Linked DNA regions of Homo sapiens: regions 2, 3 and 4 are each linked to region 1. The links are contacts of gene promoters, found by promoter capture Hi-C in human tissues and cell types (Jung and others, 2019). All regions are on one chromosome and are shown on one strand. The core of a region is centred on a gene start or on the middle of the fragment in contact, and the rest is flanking DNA. Distances in the headings are between cores, read along the strand shown. Region 1 holds the start of ZNF732 (zinc finger protein 732). Region 2 overlaps ZNF141 (zinc finger protein 141). Region 3 holds the start of MIR571 (microRNA 571). Region 4 has its middle 39 kb from the start of ZNF732.

Region 1 (3,488 bases), core at 495-2,994:
GCTCCTGCAACAGCCAGGTTTAAAGGCATGGTCTTGAAGTCACTAACGTCTGAATTCTCGCAGGCAAGTGAGGGATGGACTTGGGCACACTGTGTGCACAGGAAATAAGATTTGTGAGGAAGAAAAAAGCAGAAGAGAGAAAGGAGCTATCAAGAGTCATGGTGGGGACAGGGCAGGACTGACTAAATAAAAGACTAGTTTGTGCTACAAGTGCAGGTCTAGGCAGGGTTACCATCTGACTGATTCATGTGTCCATAAAGGCAGAGGAGATTAGGATCAGGTGGTCCAGAAGCCTGGGTGGGGGAAGGAAACAGGTTCCTGCTATAGATCCAGTGTCTGGGGTTGAAATGAGCCAGGAGTCTTCCTGGCACTGTGTGTGTTATTGGCAGAATACCCTAGGAGCAAAGCTGTCACGGGCACAATTCCTGAGGGTAGAACCCTGTCCTGGGAGGAGTGTGGCAATGCGAATGGCCAGTGAGCGTCCTCGGGAGTGGGTTAGCATTAAGTGGGGGCTGGCAGCAGGGTGCAGGGAAGGGATGTTTCTCAGAACTCCTTTCCTCTAAGTTCCCAGTCCCTTCTCTCCCCGGAAGGAGACCTGGAGGAAAAGGACAGTGCCCAGCGGGACAGCACATGTGCAGAACCCGGCCGCGCCTCCCGCAGACACCAGGCATCTTTCTCCAGCCCAGGCTCAGCCATGTCTTTCTTCTGACAGAAAACGTGCGGAGTTTGCTCAACATCAGTCAATGCTCCAACCCCAACGCGGTGTCCAGCAACTCACTAACGACACCACCCAGAGTCAGCGAAGACCCCACAAGCTCAGCGCTCTTCCCGCAGCTGCCCCCCCCCTGCAGACGGCAGTCCCTGCCTCTGGACACCCGTCTTCATTTCTGAACGCCTGCCTACAAACCAGGGGCGCCCACACCCTCCTCAAGTTCAATAATGTGGCAGAACTACTCACAGAACTCAGCGAAGCGCTGTGCGCGCCCACACCAGCGTATTCTAAAAGATGCCACTCAGGAACAGCCACGCGGAGGAGGCGCACAGGGCAAGGGGACTGGTGGGCAAGTTGGAGCGGGCGGGTGATTTGCTTCGCTTCCTCACACACCTCACAAAAGCTTTTCCTTCAAGACCCGCTGGCAGCCCCCAAACCACAAGCCATGCCCGGGGCTGTCCCATTAATTAGTCCCCATTTGCTCACATGAACTCTATGTTTTGATAGGGCCTCGATCTTATTCCGAACAGGGTAAAGTAGGGACTCGACGACCGGACCACAGCTCCTCCCAGGCGGGCACCTCGCACGCCACGCAGGCGTTTTCCCGATGAGCTCCTCCTCACCCCACAGCCCAGGGAAGGTGCGGGGCTGCGGGCGCAGAGCTGCACAAGTAGGGCTGCAGGCTGGGCCAAAGCCGCCTTGCGGGGACCGACATGAACCCGGGTCCCTCACCGGAAGGGACCAAGGACTGAGGGCTGAGCGGCGGCAGCGGAGACTCCGTTCGCAGACTCCGTCCCGCCGCCGCCATTTCCCGCCGGTTCGGATGAGGCCTCCCCAGCCTTGGGACGCCCTGCCCCCACACTCACCATTTCCCCACTTCAGGGGTGTAGCGGAGTCTCAGCTACGAATCATCCAATACCCGCAGGTCACAGAGCGACGGAGGCTGAGGCTGTGACCGAATCACCGACGCCTCCCTGAGGGGTGAAAGCACGGCCGTGGAGACCCTAACCGAGCTCACGCTGGCGCAAAAGGCAAAAGCCGCGCCAGATCCCGGATGCCGCCCCCTCCTCTCCGGCTGCGCGCCTGATTGGGCAGTTCTCAATCCAGCGCTCTGATTGGATAAGATACCAAGCTCCCCACGCTCAGAATTTGAGTGACAGAACTTGCCACCACACAGTGCACTTAATGAGGCAAGAGAGACAGACTCGTGCCTCCAGGTATTTTCAGTCAGGGCTTTCTGTGCTAGGCTTGGCTCTGTTGGGGGTTCATTTTTAACCTTCTGGTGTGTAAGGTTACGCCCATTTATAAATTGTGTACGTACGCGCGCGCACACACACAGACACACACTTGTTCACAAATGGAAACAATATAATGACAATTATTTTAATATTTTAGATTTCATAACCTCTCTGTCCTCTGGTCTTTTGAGTAGGATTTTAAGGGGGAAGCAATCCTTTAAAAAATAAAATGTTAGCTATTTGTGAATTTTCAATTTTTTATTAGCCACATCAAAAATAATAAAAAGAAACAAGTGAAATTGTTTATATTTTAACCTATTGTATCCAAAATATTGTTTCAATATGTGATCAATATATAATTAGAAATAAAGTATATTTCTGATTTAATTCGTCTAAACTCACTGTGTATTTTATGTTTGCAGCACATTTTACCTCAAACCAGCCACATTCCAGGTACTCAGTAGCTACATATGTCTGGTGGCTGCCACATCGAGTACAGCCATGAGGGCTCTGACCTCAAGAAAGTGAGGGCCTGAACACGTCTTTTCTACTGGAAGTAAGGGACCAGCCTCTCTACCAACTTTTCTCCTCAGGATGAAGGATGGGTAGGACAGTGCCCCTAGAGAGAGCAGGGGCTGCAAGCTGAGAGTGTCCACGTGAAGATCACTGTCTCCCCCTTGCTGTTTGGTACCAGTGTGGTGGTCTCCTCAGTTCAACCACGTCTGGGCTCTCTTCCCATGACCAGGAAGAATAAGACATACAGACACCAGAGAGTGAGTAAAGCAGAATAGGATTTATTAAGCATAGGGAAAGCTCTCAGCAGTAAGAGGGGACATGAAAGCAGGGTGCCAGAAATGGGGCTGAGTTTATATGGCAAGAACAAGGAAGTCTTCTGTGGGCTCTGCCCAAATGGGAGGGGTAAAGTTCCCCTATAACAGTGTTGCATCTGAGCATGCCTGGGATTGACCACAGTGACTCCGTCTTGGTTATTACCCATGAGTGCCCAAGCGAAACCCACAGCAGGTGGAAAGGGTGAAGCTAAAACCAAAATACTTATGTCATGTTAGGTAACATTATAAGGAGCTGGGTCAAGTTAATGACATTTAGGTTGATTTATTACACCTGGGCCTAAGTGGGGACAGTCCCTTCTGATCAACATCCTGGCATAAGAGGAAGTTCTTAACCACATTTCTTCCCACTAGCTACAAGGGTGGTGCATGTGCGGTCCCATGGGTGTTTTTCCTCTCCAGAGACCCTCCCTCCCTATCTTCCTAACTAGCTTCTGACTGCCTCCTCTCTCAGGGGTTCCTCTTCCTTTTAAATATCAGACAGTAAACAAGGAATGATGGGTCCACAGGAAGAGAGAGCACCATGTATTCAGATCTCTTCACAGCCTTGCCCTCCAGAGTTTAGATGTGGAGGGAATAGATTAAAGGCAAATTTCTTGTTTTGCTATTTATCTTTGGACCTGTCAGGCTGTAACTGTGTGTTTTTCTCCTGTGGTGTGGGGCACTGTGTGAGTTTAAGCACCAATCACA
Region 2 (3,488 bases), core at 459-2,958, 61 kb after region 1:
CTGGTGTGCCGTTTGCTAAGACCATTGGAAAAACACAGTATTTGGGCAGGAGATCCCGATTTTCCAGATACAGTCTGTCACAGCTTCCCTTGGCTAGGAGAGGGAAATCCCCCAACCCCTTGTGCTTCCCAGGTGAGGTGATGCCCCACCCTGTTTCAGCTTGCCCTCAGTGGGCTGCACTGCACCCACTGTCCAACCAGTCCCAATGAGATGAACCAGGTACCTCAGTTGGAAGTGCAGAAATCACCCGTCTTTTACGTCAGTCACGCTGTGAGCTGCAAACCAGAGCCGTTCCTATTCAGCCATCTTGGAACGGGAGGTCTCTGCTCTATTTTTAAATTGTGTGTTATTTTTGTTGTTAAGTTTGTTAAATATTCTATAAGTTTATCTTTTGTTGTGTATATTTCACAAATATTTTCTTTCATTCTGTAGATTATCTCTTCACTTTGTTAACGTTTTCTTTGCTGTGCAAAACATTTTTAGTTTGTTGTAATCCCATTTGCATAATGTTACTTCTTTTGCCTGTGCTTTTGAGGTCTTACTTAAAAATTCTTTGCTCTGTAATATGTGGTAAAGCATTCCTCTATGTTTATCCAAATAGCTTTATAGGTTTGGGTTTCACATTTAAATCTTTATTTGCGATTGAGTTTTTTATACTGTAAGAGCTAGGGGCCTAGTTTCATTTTTTGATTATCATGTAGGTAATCAATTTTCCTAGCACCAATTATTGAAAAGACTGTCTTTTTCCAAATGTGTGTTCTTGACATCTTTGTTGAAAATCACTTGCCTCTAGTTTCATGAATTTATTACTGGGCTCACTGGATAGTTTGATCTGTCTGTTTTTATGCCAGTATCATGTTGTTTTGCTTATTATAGCTTTATAGCATATTTCGGAGTCAGGTAGTGTAATGCCTCCAGCTTGATTCTTTTTGCCCAGGATTACCTTTGCTATTTGGGGGTCTTTGGTTGGTCCTGGTTAATTTTAAGCTTGTTTATTCCATTGCTGTGAAAAAAGTCTTTGGTATTTTGATAGAGATGGCATTGAATCTGTAGATCACCTTGGGTAGTATGGCCACTTTCGTAATGTTTTTTCAATTCATGAGGAAAAATATCTTTCAATTTTTATGTCTTTTTCAGTTTTTTATCAATTTTGTTGTTGTTTGCTTTTTGAGACAAAGTCTCACCCTGTTGCCCAGGCTGGAGTGCAATGGCACAATATCAGTGCACCACAACCTCTGCCTCCTGGGTTCAAATGATTCTCCTGTCTCAACCTCCTGAGTAGCTGGGATGACAGGCGTGTGCCGCCCCACTAATTTTTGTATTTTTAGTAGTGACGGGGTTTCACCATGTTGGTCAGGCTGCTCTCGAACTACTGACCTCGTGATCTGCCCACCTTGGCCTACCAAAGTGCTAGGATTACAGGCGTGAGCCACCACACCCAGCATTATCAATGTTTTATAATTATCAGTGTAGAGAGTGTTCACCTTTTCAATTCGGTTTGCTGCTAGACATATTTTATTTTATTTATTTAATTTGGGATGGAGTCCTGCTTTGTCGCTCAGACTGGAGCGCACTGGTGCGATCTTGGCTCACCACAACCTCTGCCTCCTAGGTTCAAGCAATTCTCCTGCCTCAGCCTCCTGAGTAGCTGGGAGTAGCTGGACTGCACCTGGTTAATTTTTGTATTTTTAGGAGAGACAGTGTTTCGCCATGTTGACCAGGCTGGTCTTGAGCTCTGGACCTCAGGTAATCCTCCTGCCTCAGCCTCCCAAAATGCTAGGATTACAGGCGTGAGCCACTGAACCTGGCCAACTGGTGGATGTAGAAGCAACACTGGCAAAATTGAACATGGCTTTGTGATTTAAGAAACTCAACGAATTAGGTATAGATCATATGTACCTCAATACAGTAAAGACCCTATATGACAGATTAATAGCTGATATCATACTGGATAGGAAAGAGCAGAAATCTTCTTTTTTTGAGATCTGGAACAGGACAAGTATGTTTTTATTTTATATTATAATTGTGTATGACAGCATTCAGCTGTGTACACTGTAAGACTGGAGCACAAGTGAAATATGGATCACTGATATGTCTATTTCCAATATGAGTCTATCTGTATGTGTATTGGTTTTGTATTGTTTATGAGTTGTTTACTTGTTCTGTTTATGTGTGTTCAATGGTGGTTTTGAATAGTCATTGAAATCCTCCTAATTTTACTTTCTATTTATTTGTAAATCTATATTTGTGTGTGGGAGAAACACTTTTGCGACTTGAAGATAAGTTCAAAAACTGTCATATGTCTGTATCTCAGATTTTAGATACTATTTTTAATTGTCAAAAACACATAAACTTTACAATCTTTTTTTTTTTTTTTGATGTGGAGTCTCACTCTGTCACCCAGGCTGGAGTGCAGTGGTGCGATATCAGTTCACTGCAACCTCTGCCTCCCAGGTTCAAGCGATTCTTCTGCCTCAGCCTCCTGAGTAGCTGGGATTACAGGTGCGCACCACCATGCCCAACTAATTTTTGTATTTTTTGTAGAGACGGGGTTTCACCATATTGGCCAGGCTAGTCTTGATCTCCTGACCTCATGATCTGTCCGCCACGGCCTCCCAACATGCTGAGATTACACCGCGCCCAGCCAAAACTTTACAATCTTAAATACTGTTTTTTTCCAAAGTTTGTTGTCATAATTTAAGTTCTGGGGTACACGTGCAGAACATCCAGATTTTGTTACATAGGTATACACGTGCCATAAATACTTTTAAGTATTTACCTTAGTCATATTATATCGATATTCTTATGCACTCTGTCTGGAATATGTTTATCTTGCAAGGCTAACACTCATACACATTAAACAACTACCTACTTTTTCTGTTTTCTGGCCCTTTACAAAAACAATTCTGTTTTCTATTTTAGAGTCAGACTGCTTTATATATCTCATGTAAGTTGACTCATGCAATTTTTGTCTCTTCATGGCTGACTTATTTTGTGTTACACAGTGCCATCAACATTTATCTTTATTATACATATTAGGATACTTTTTGCTTTTTATAAACAGTAATGTTTCATTTTTTTAAAGGATTTTTTTTTTGAGACAGAGTCTTGCTCTGTCACCCAGTCAGAATGTAAGTGCAGTGGCACCATCTCAGCTCACTGCAACCTCCACGTCCCAGGTTCAAGCAATTCTTGTGCCTCAACCACCCAAGTAGCTGGGATTACAGACGTGCACCACCACACCCATCTAATTTTTGTATTTTTAGTAGAGACAGGGTTTCACCACATTGGTCAAGCTGATCTCGAACACCTGACCTCAAGCGATCCACCTGTCTCGGCCTCCCAAACTGCTGGGATTACAGGCATGAGCCACCATGCCTGGCCAATCGGCCAATGTTTCATTATTTTAATATTTCAAATTATATTTATCCATTGATTTGGTGAGAGAAATTTTCATTACTTTCATTTATTTGCTTTCAGTAACAATG
Region 3 (3,488 bases), core at 485-2,984, 44 kb after region 1:
CTCGATCTCCTGATCTCATGATCTGCCTGCCTCGGCCTCCCAAAGTGCTGAGATTACAGGCCTGAGCCACCACACCCAGCTGGATATTAACTTATCAGATATGGCTTGCAAATGCTTTTCTATTTTGTAGGGTTTTTAAAAATTTTGTTTTTATTTTTTCCTTTGATGTGCAGAGGCTGTTTACTTTGATGCAGTCTCACTTGTTTATATTTTATTTTGTTGCTGTGCTGTTGATGTCATTTCAAAAAAAGTTATTGCCGAGACCAATATCAACAAGGTTTTTCCATATGTTTTCTTCATGAGTTTTAAGATTTCATGTCTTAATTTCAGTCTTTGTTTTGAAGTCTGAAATTAGAAAGCATGATGCCTGCCAGACAAGGTGGCTCACACCTGTAATCCCAGCACCTTGGGAGGCCGAGGTGGGCGGATCACTTGAGATCAGGAGTTCAAGACTAGCCTGGCCAATATGGTGAAACCCTGTCTCTACTAAAAATATACAAAAACTAGCTAGGGGTGGTAGTGGGCGCTTGTAATCCCAGCTACTCGGGAAGCTGAGGCAGGAGAATCACTTGAACCCAAGAGGCAGAGGTTTCAGTGAGCCTAGATCACTGAACCTAGATTGTGCCACTGCACTCCAGCCTGGGTGACAGAGCTGGACTCCATCTCAAAAAAAAAAAAAAAACAAGTATGATGCCCCCAGCTTTGTTCTTTCTCAAGATTGATTGCTCAGGTTATTAAAAGTCGTTTAAGGTTACACCTAAATTTTACAATTGTGTTTTCTATTAGTGTGAAAAATGCCAATAAAATTTTGATAGGGATCACATTGAATCTATAGATCACTTTGGATAATATTCTTTGACAATATTAGTTATCCTAATGGAATATGTTTCCATTTATTTGTTTCTACTTCACTTTCTGTCATTGATATCTTATTGTATTTAGTGTATAATACTATATGTTTTTTATGTCATTTGGTTAAATTTATTTTGATTAACTTTCTTATTTTTATACTATTGCAAATGGAAATGGTTTCTATTTTTGGAAAGTTTGTTTTTACTCTATGGAAATGCAAGAAATATTTGTATGTGGTGCCAGGTGCAGTGGCTCATTTCTGTGATCCCAGCACTTTCAGAGCCCAAGGCAGTTGTATCATGTGAGTACAGGAGTTTGAGATAAGCCTGGGCAATAGAGTGAGGCCCTGTCTCAAAAAAAAAAAAATCCCAACAAGCATCTATATGTTGATTATGTATCCTGATACTTTAATGAATGCATTTATTAGTTCAATCAATTTTTCTTATTTTACTCTAGGGTTTTATGTATATGCATGATGATATTATCCACAAACAGTAACTTTTTTATTTCTTTTCCACTCTGGAGAGCTTTATTCTCCTTTTCCTTGTCTAATTGTTTTGATACAAACTTCCAGTCACATGTTAAGATAGAAGCTGTGGCCCTGGAGGCAGGCCTGCAAGTCTTGTCCCCGGCTGTGGTCTCTGAAGCAGCCCTGTGTCTGCATTTGACAAATTTCACAGTTTGTATAAACTATTTTTGGCAGGTAAAGATCTCCTTTTGTTGAGTCCCAGGCTGATGAGATTACCTCTGGGGTTGCAGAGAAGAAGGGTTGTAGCTGGGTCACAAGGGTGCTGCTGGGTCTGCTGTGGGGTCTGCCTTTGATGATTGTATTACCAGAGATTTGGACAGTCATGGATTATTTCTGGGCCCTGGAGAGATTAGATTTCCTTGAGGATATTAATCTATATGGCAGGCAGTAGACTAGGGTTTTGAAGTTTGTCTGCATATGATGGGCCAAATACCAGGTGTATGAATGGGTTTGGCTTCTACTGACAACCTGGGAACAGTTTCCACACTTTTCTCTTTGGGTCCCTGATTGTGTACAACTGGCCATGGACTGTGACTGTGAGGGCTAGAACTGAGTCACAGGGCTCAGGAGCACAGCTGAGGCCAGGATATACAGGCCTGCCTCCAGGGCCATGGCTGGGTGTGTATCTCCCTGCAGGTCTCTTGATGGGAAGGACCACGTCTGGACTGTAGCTGAGATTGAATTTGAGAGAGGTTACAGAACTGCTTCAGAATCCTCAGTAAGACCAAGCTCAGTGTGCCATTTCCTTGTCTGTAGCCATGTCTATGGGCTCTTGAGTTGGCCATCTGAGTGAGGGCCTGCTTATTCTAAATAACCCTCGATCTCTGGCTCCACTGAGGTTTCACAACCCTAACCATAGGCAAGCACCTTTCTACTTCTGCTTTCTATGTGCTTACTACTTAAAATATTGTATAAAAATGGAATCATGCATTGTCACTTTGTTAGCGTCTTATTTCACTAAAATAATGGCCTCAGGATTTATCCTTATTGTAGCATCTGACAAGACATTTTCATTTGAAGCTAAAGAATATTTCATTGCGTGTATAAGCCACATCTTTTAAAATCTTTCATTCATTGAAGGATGTTTGAATTTTTTCACTTTTTCACTTTTGTAAATTATACGGTTTGGATCTATGTCCCCATTCAAATCTCATGTCAAATGTAATCCCTATTGTTGGAGGTGGGGCCTTGAGGGAGATGATTGGATCGTAGGGTTGGCTTTTCATGAATAGTTTAGTACCAGCCCCTTTGGTACTGTCTTTGCCATAGTGAGTGAGTTCTCCCGAGATCTTATTTTTTATTTATTTATTTTTTGAGATGGAGTCTCGCTCTGTGGCTCAGGCTGGAGTGCAGTGGCATGATCTCGGCTCACCGCAAGCTCCACCTCACGGGTTCATGCCATTCTCCTGCCTCAACCTCCAGAGTAGCTGGGATTACAGGTGCTTGCCACCATGCCCGGCTAATTTTTTGTACTTTTTTTTTTTTTTAGTAGAGACGGGGTTTCACCATGTTAGCCAGGATGGTTTGGATCTCCTGACCTCATGATCCGTCCACCTCAGCCTCCCAAAGTGCTGGGATTACAGGCGTGAGCCACCGCGCCCGGCCTGAGATCTTATTTTTTAAAAGCATGTGGCACCTCCCCTCTCACTCTTGTCTTGCTCCTGTTCCCACTGTGTGAGATGACTCACTCTCCCTTTGCTTTGTGCCGTGACTGGAAGCTTTCTGAGGCCTCCCCAAAAGTAGAAGCTGCTGTGCTTCCTGTACAGCCTTCAGAACTATGAGCCAGTTAAACCTTTTTTTTTTTTTTTGAGACAGAGTCTCGCTCTGCCACTCAGGCTGGAGTACAGTGGCGCGATCTCGGCTCACTGCAATGTCCGCCTCCCAGGTTCAACTTATTCTCCTGCCTCAGCCTCCCGAGTAGCTGGGACTACAGGTGCCTGCCACCAAGCCTGGCTAATTTTTTTAATTTTTAGTAGGGGCGGGGTTTTACCATGTTAGCCAGGTGGTCTCCTGACCTCATGATCCGCCCCTCGGCCTCCAAAAGTGCTGAGATTACAGGCGTGAGCAACCATGCCTGGCCGGAGAAACATTTATACTTCCATATACT
Region 4 (3,488 bases), core at 253-2,752, 39 kb before region 1:
TGCAGGCGTAGTAAGTACAGATTTGACTGCTATATGACTTTCCTAGGGTAGTGGTAATAAGCTATTCTGCCATCAAAACTCATTGATCACTGGAACTCACACATGTACATCAGCCGACAGTAAGGAAGCATCTCATAGACCTGGGAAGAAACTCAGTGAGGATAAAAGAAGAGATTTACCAGGAAGCAGGAAACTCCACAAAGACAAAGGCAGACACTTAAGACAGAGGTGGGAATTTTTTTTAAGTCTATAATAATAAAAACTGCAACATGTAAATCTCAGGGCTGTTTCCAGCTGAGCCAATCCACTCCTCCTTTGGTGTGTTCTTTATTTTCCTTTAATGAACTCTCTGCTTGCTTCACTAATTGTCTCTGGGCTGAATTGTTTCTCTCAAGAAAACAATAGCTGAGGACCTTATATATGCTGAATTACATTAATGGAATTAATGAATGTTTGAATTCAATAGCTGCCATAATCGCCTAATTTTTTCTAGAGAAGGTGACCAAGAACTTGGATAAAGTTAGATGACTAAAAATAAAAACTGTACCCCATGAACTGCATCCACCAAAACAAATTTCAAACTCAAGATTGCAATACGAATCTCAACAAAAAAAGATCATTGCAGATTTTGAATCTACACAGATCATTCTATTATTTTTGCAACACTTAACATTTAGTCAAAAATAGAAGATTCTGCATAAAAAATAAGTTTTGCTATGTCATAGAAAATTATATGTAAAATTCTTCATCTACCATTAAGTCTTAAAAATTTTATTTCAAAGATATATTTTAAGAGATTTCAAACTTCTGATGTGTTTCTTCATATGGTGCTTACAATCTGCAACCAACTTATATTTATGCTTTAATATATATTAAGGTATGTTACATTTAACACACTTTGTGTTAGATTCTCATACAATTTTTCTTTTACAAAGAGAAAAACGGTGCTCACTTAATCCTCTTACATGTGGACAGTGAATTAGTCTTACCTCAATTACATGATCTGAATGTTGCATTGATAAGCTATAATCTCAAACACGCCAGTTAAAAACAATATACATTAAAAATTCCAAACTTCTCATCAGAGCCTAGAAAGTCCAAGTGAAATTACATGGCATGAAGAGAACAGTGAGGAAACTGTAGCCATAACACAAAGAAGAGCAGTGAAGCATACATAGCTGGGGATAAACACATGAAGACATCAGAAAACTAAAGACAATTAGAAAATAAAAACAGAGGCCAGGTGCAGTGGCGGATGCCTGTAATCCCAGCACTTTTGGAGGCCGAGGTAGGTGGATCACCAGGTCAAGAGATCAAGACCATCCTGGCAACACGGTGAAACCCTGTCTCTACTAAAACTACAAAAATTAGCTAGGTATGGTGGTGTGCACCTGTAGTCCCACCTACTTGGGAGGCTGGGGCAGGAGAATCGCTTCAACCCAAGAGGCGGAGGTTGCGCTGAGCCAAGATCATGCCATTGCACTTCAGCCTGGTGACAGAGTGAGACTGTCTCAAAAAACAAAAAAAGAAATATAAGGAAAATTAAATGTTCCAATAAAATATAACTATACACATTGTAAAATTACATCTAAAAAGTATTTTCTGTGCACTAACTTTTTAAAAAAATTTTATAATTTCTGACCAGCCCACATACTTTATGGAGTTAAAAAAAAAGAATGAGAAACAAGAAAATTATACCTCTAGCATGAGCACCACATTAAAACAGAGACTTTTTACAGGGAGATTCTCAAAAATGATCCATTAGATTTTACAGTAATTACATAAAAATAAGAAAACATAGATTTTAATTCAAAATGTTTTAGGTTTCTAGATTTCCAGTAAATTATCCACAGTATTAATAGAAACTTCTTTGTTCCAATATTGCTATTTTCTTCGGAAAATAGGTACAAACTCTCATGCAAACACAATTGCTTGCTTCATAATTTTCTTACACCCAAGGTTTATCTTTAGAGCACAACATTTATATATTTAACTCCATGTAAATTAAAACTAAGTCTGTATGTTTACAGGAGAACATGATGCATGTCCAAAGATAAATATGAAACATTTTTGAAAATCATTCAGGACTCAGGAATGTATGAATTATAATTATACTCTGATATACTTATTACAATCATAAAATGACCTGTAGTAGAAAAAATTGTACATTTAAAAATAATTGAAGTGTATAATTAGATTGTGGGTAATATAAAAGATAAATGCTGGAGAAACCCCAACTCTACTAAAAATACAAAATTAGCCAGGTTGCCAGGCGCAGTGGCTCACACCTGTAATCCCAGCACTTTGGGAGGCTGAGGCAGGCAGATCACGAGGTCAGGAGATCGAGACCATCCTGGCTAACACGGTGAAACCCCGTCTCTACTAAAAATACAAAAAATTAGCCAGGCGAGGTGGCAGGCGCCTGTAGTCCCAGCTACTTGGGAGGCTGAGGCAGGAGAATGGTGTGAACCCTGGGGGGCGGAGTCTGCAGTGAGCCAAGATCACGCCACTGCACTCCAGCCTGGGTGACAGCGAGACTCCGTCTGGGGGGGGGGGGGGGGAATTAGCCAGGCATGGTGGCACATGCCTGTGATCCCAGCTACTCAGGAGACTGATTTAGGAGAATTGCTTGAACCTGGGAGGTGGAGGTTGCAGTGAGCCAAGATCGCACCATTGCACTCTGGCCTGGGCAACAAGAACGAAACTCTGTCCCAAGAAAAAGAAAAAGAAAAAAAAAAGATAAATGCTTAAGATAATGAATAACTCATTTACTCTGTCATTTATATATTGTATGCCTGTATCAAAATAACCCATATATACCATAAATATATACATAGTTATGTACCCACAAAAACTTTTTAAAAATTTAAATAAGAATAAAAATGCAACATGGGAACAATATTCAGTTTACTTGCTGTTTAAAGCCATTGGAAAAATAGACTAGAAATGTCATTCAGCTATGTTATCAGATAGTACATTGTTAGCATCTCTTACCTACACCCTTGAGTAAGGTGGAATAGGTGAAAGTTGGTGGCATAACACATCATTCAAGGCACAATAATTTCTACACATTAATAATTTTATTTAAAAAATTAAGGCCAGGCGCGATGGCTCACGCGTGGAATCCCAGCACTTTGAGAAACTGAGGCGGGTAGATCACCAGGTCAGGAGCTCAAGACCAGCCTGGTCAATATGCTGAAACCCTGTCTCTACTAAAAATACAAAATGTGGCCAGGCCTGGTGGTGTGTGTCTGTAATCCCAGCTACTCAGGAGGCTGAGGCAAGAGAATCACTTGAACCTGGGAGGCGGAGGTTGCAGTGAGCCAAGATTGTGCCACTGCACTCCAGGCTGGGCAATAGATTGAGACTCCGTCTCAAAAAAAAAAAATTAAGTTCACACATGATCTTAAAAGACAATTTTAAAATTTACAGCATTTTATTATTAAATAAATGTACAATTGGTAAAACAATTTACTACTAAAATTCAG

Evidence for each region. Contacts are between HindIII fragments. The study calls those that stand out against the background at their distance.
Region 2: a fragment that was not itself captured here is called in contact with the fragment with the promoter of ZNF732 in region 1 in 10 of the 25 tissues and cell types used here (adrenal gland, bladder, dorsolateral prefrontal cortex and 7 more).
Region 3: a fragment that was not itself captured here is called in contact with the fragment with the promoter of ZNF732 in region 1 in 2 of the 25 tissues and cell types used here (dorsolateral prefrontal cortex and spleen).
Region 4: a contact is called between a fragment that was not itself captured here and the fragment with the promoter of ZNF732 in region 1, in 1 of the 25 tissues and cell types used here (dorsolateral prefrontal cortex).

The regions. Positions count from the first base shown.
Region 1 is chr4:303,730-307,217 of GRCh38, forward strand. It overlaps ZNF732 (zinc finger protein 732), which reads right to left and starts at 1,745. Exons shown (of 4, transcript NM_001137608.3): 1 at 1,579-1,745. The coding sequence starts at 1,581. The HindIII fragment of the contact is 17,523 bases long and covers 1-3,488 here.
Region 2 is chr4:365,158-368,645 of GRCh38, forward strand. The region is part of intron 3 of ZNF141 (zinc finger protein 141); the gene reads left to right. Among named protein-coding and RNA genes, the nearest start is that of MIR571, 17 kb to the left of the region's middle. The HindIII fragment of the contact is 4,034 bases long and covers 1-3,488 here.
Region 3 is chr4:348,063-351,550 of GRCh38, forward strand. All of the region lies in intron 3 of ZNF141 (zinc finger protein 141), which reads left to right. It overlaps MIR571 (microRNA 571), which reads left to right and starts at 2,095; the gene lies at 2,095-2,190. The HindIII fragment of the contact is 5,531 bases long and covers 1-3,488 here.
Region 4 is chr4:264,757-268,244 of GRCh38, forward strand. No RefSeq gene overlaps it. Among named protein-coding and RNA genes, the nearest start is that of ZNF732, 39 kb to the right of the region's middle. The HindIII fragment of the contact is 8,269 bases long and covers 1-3,488 here.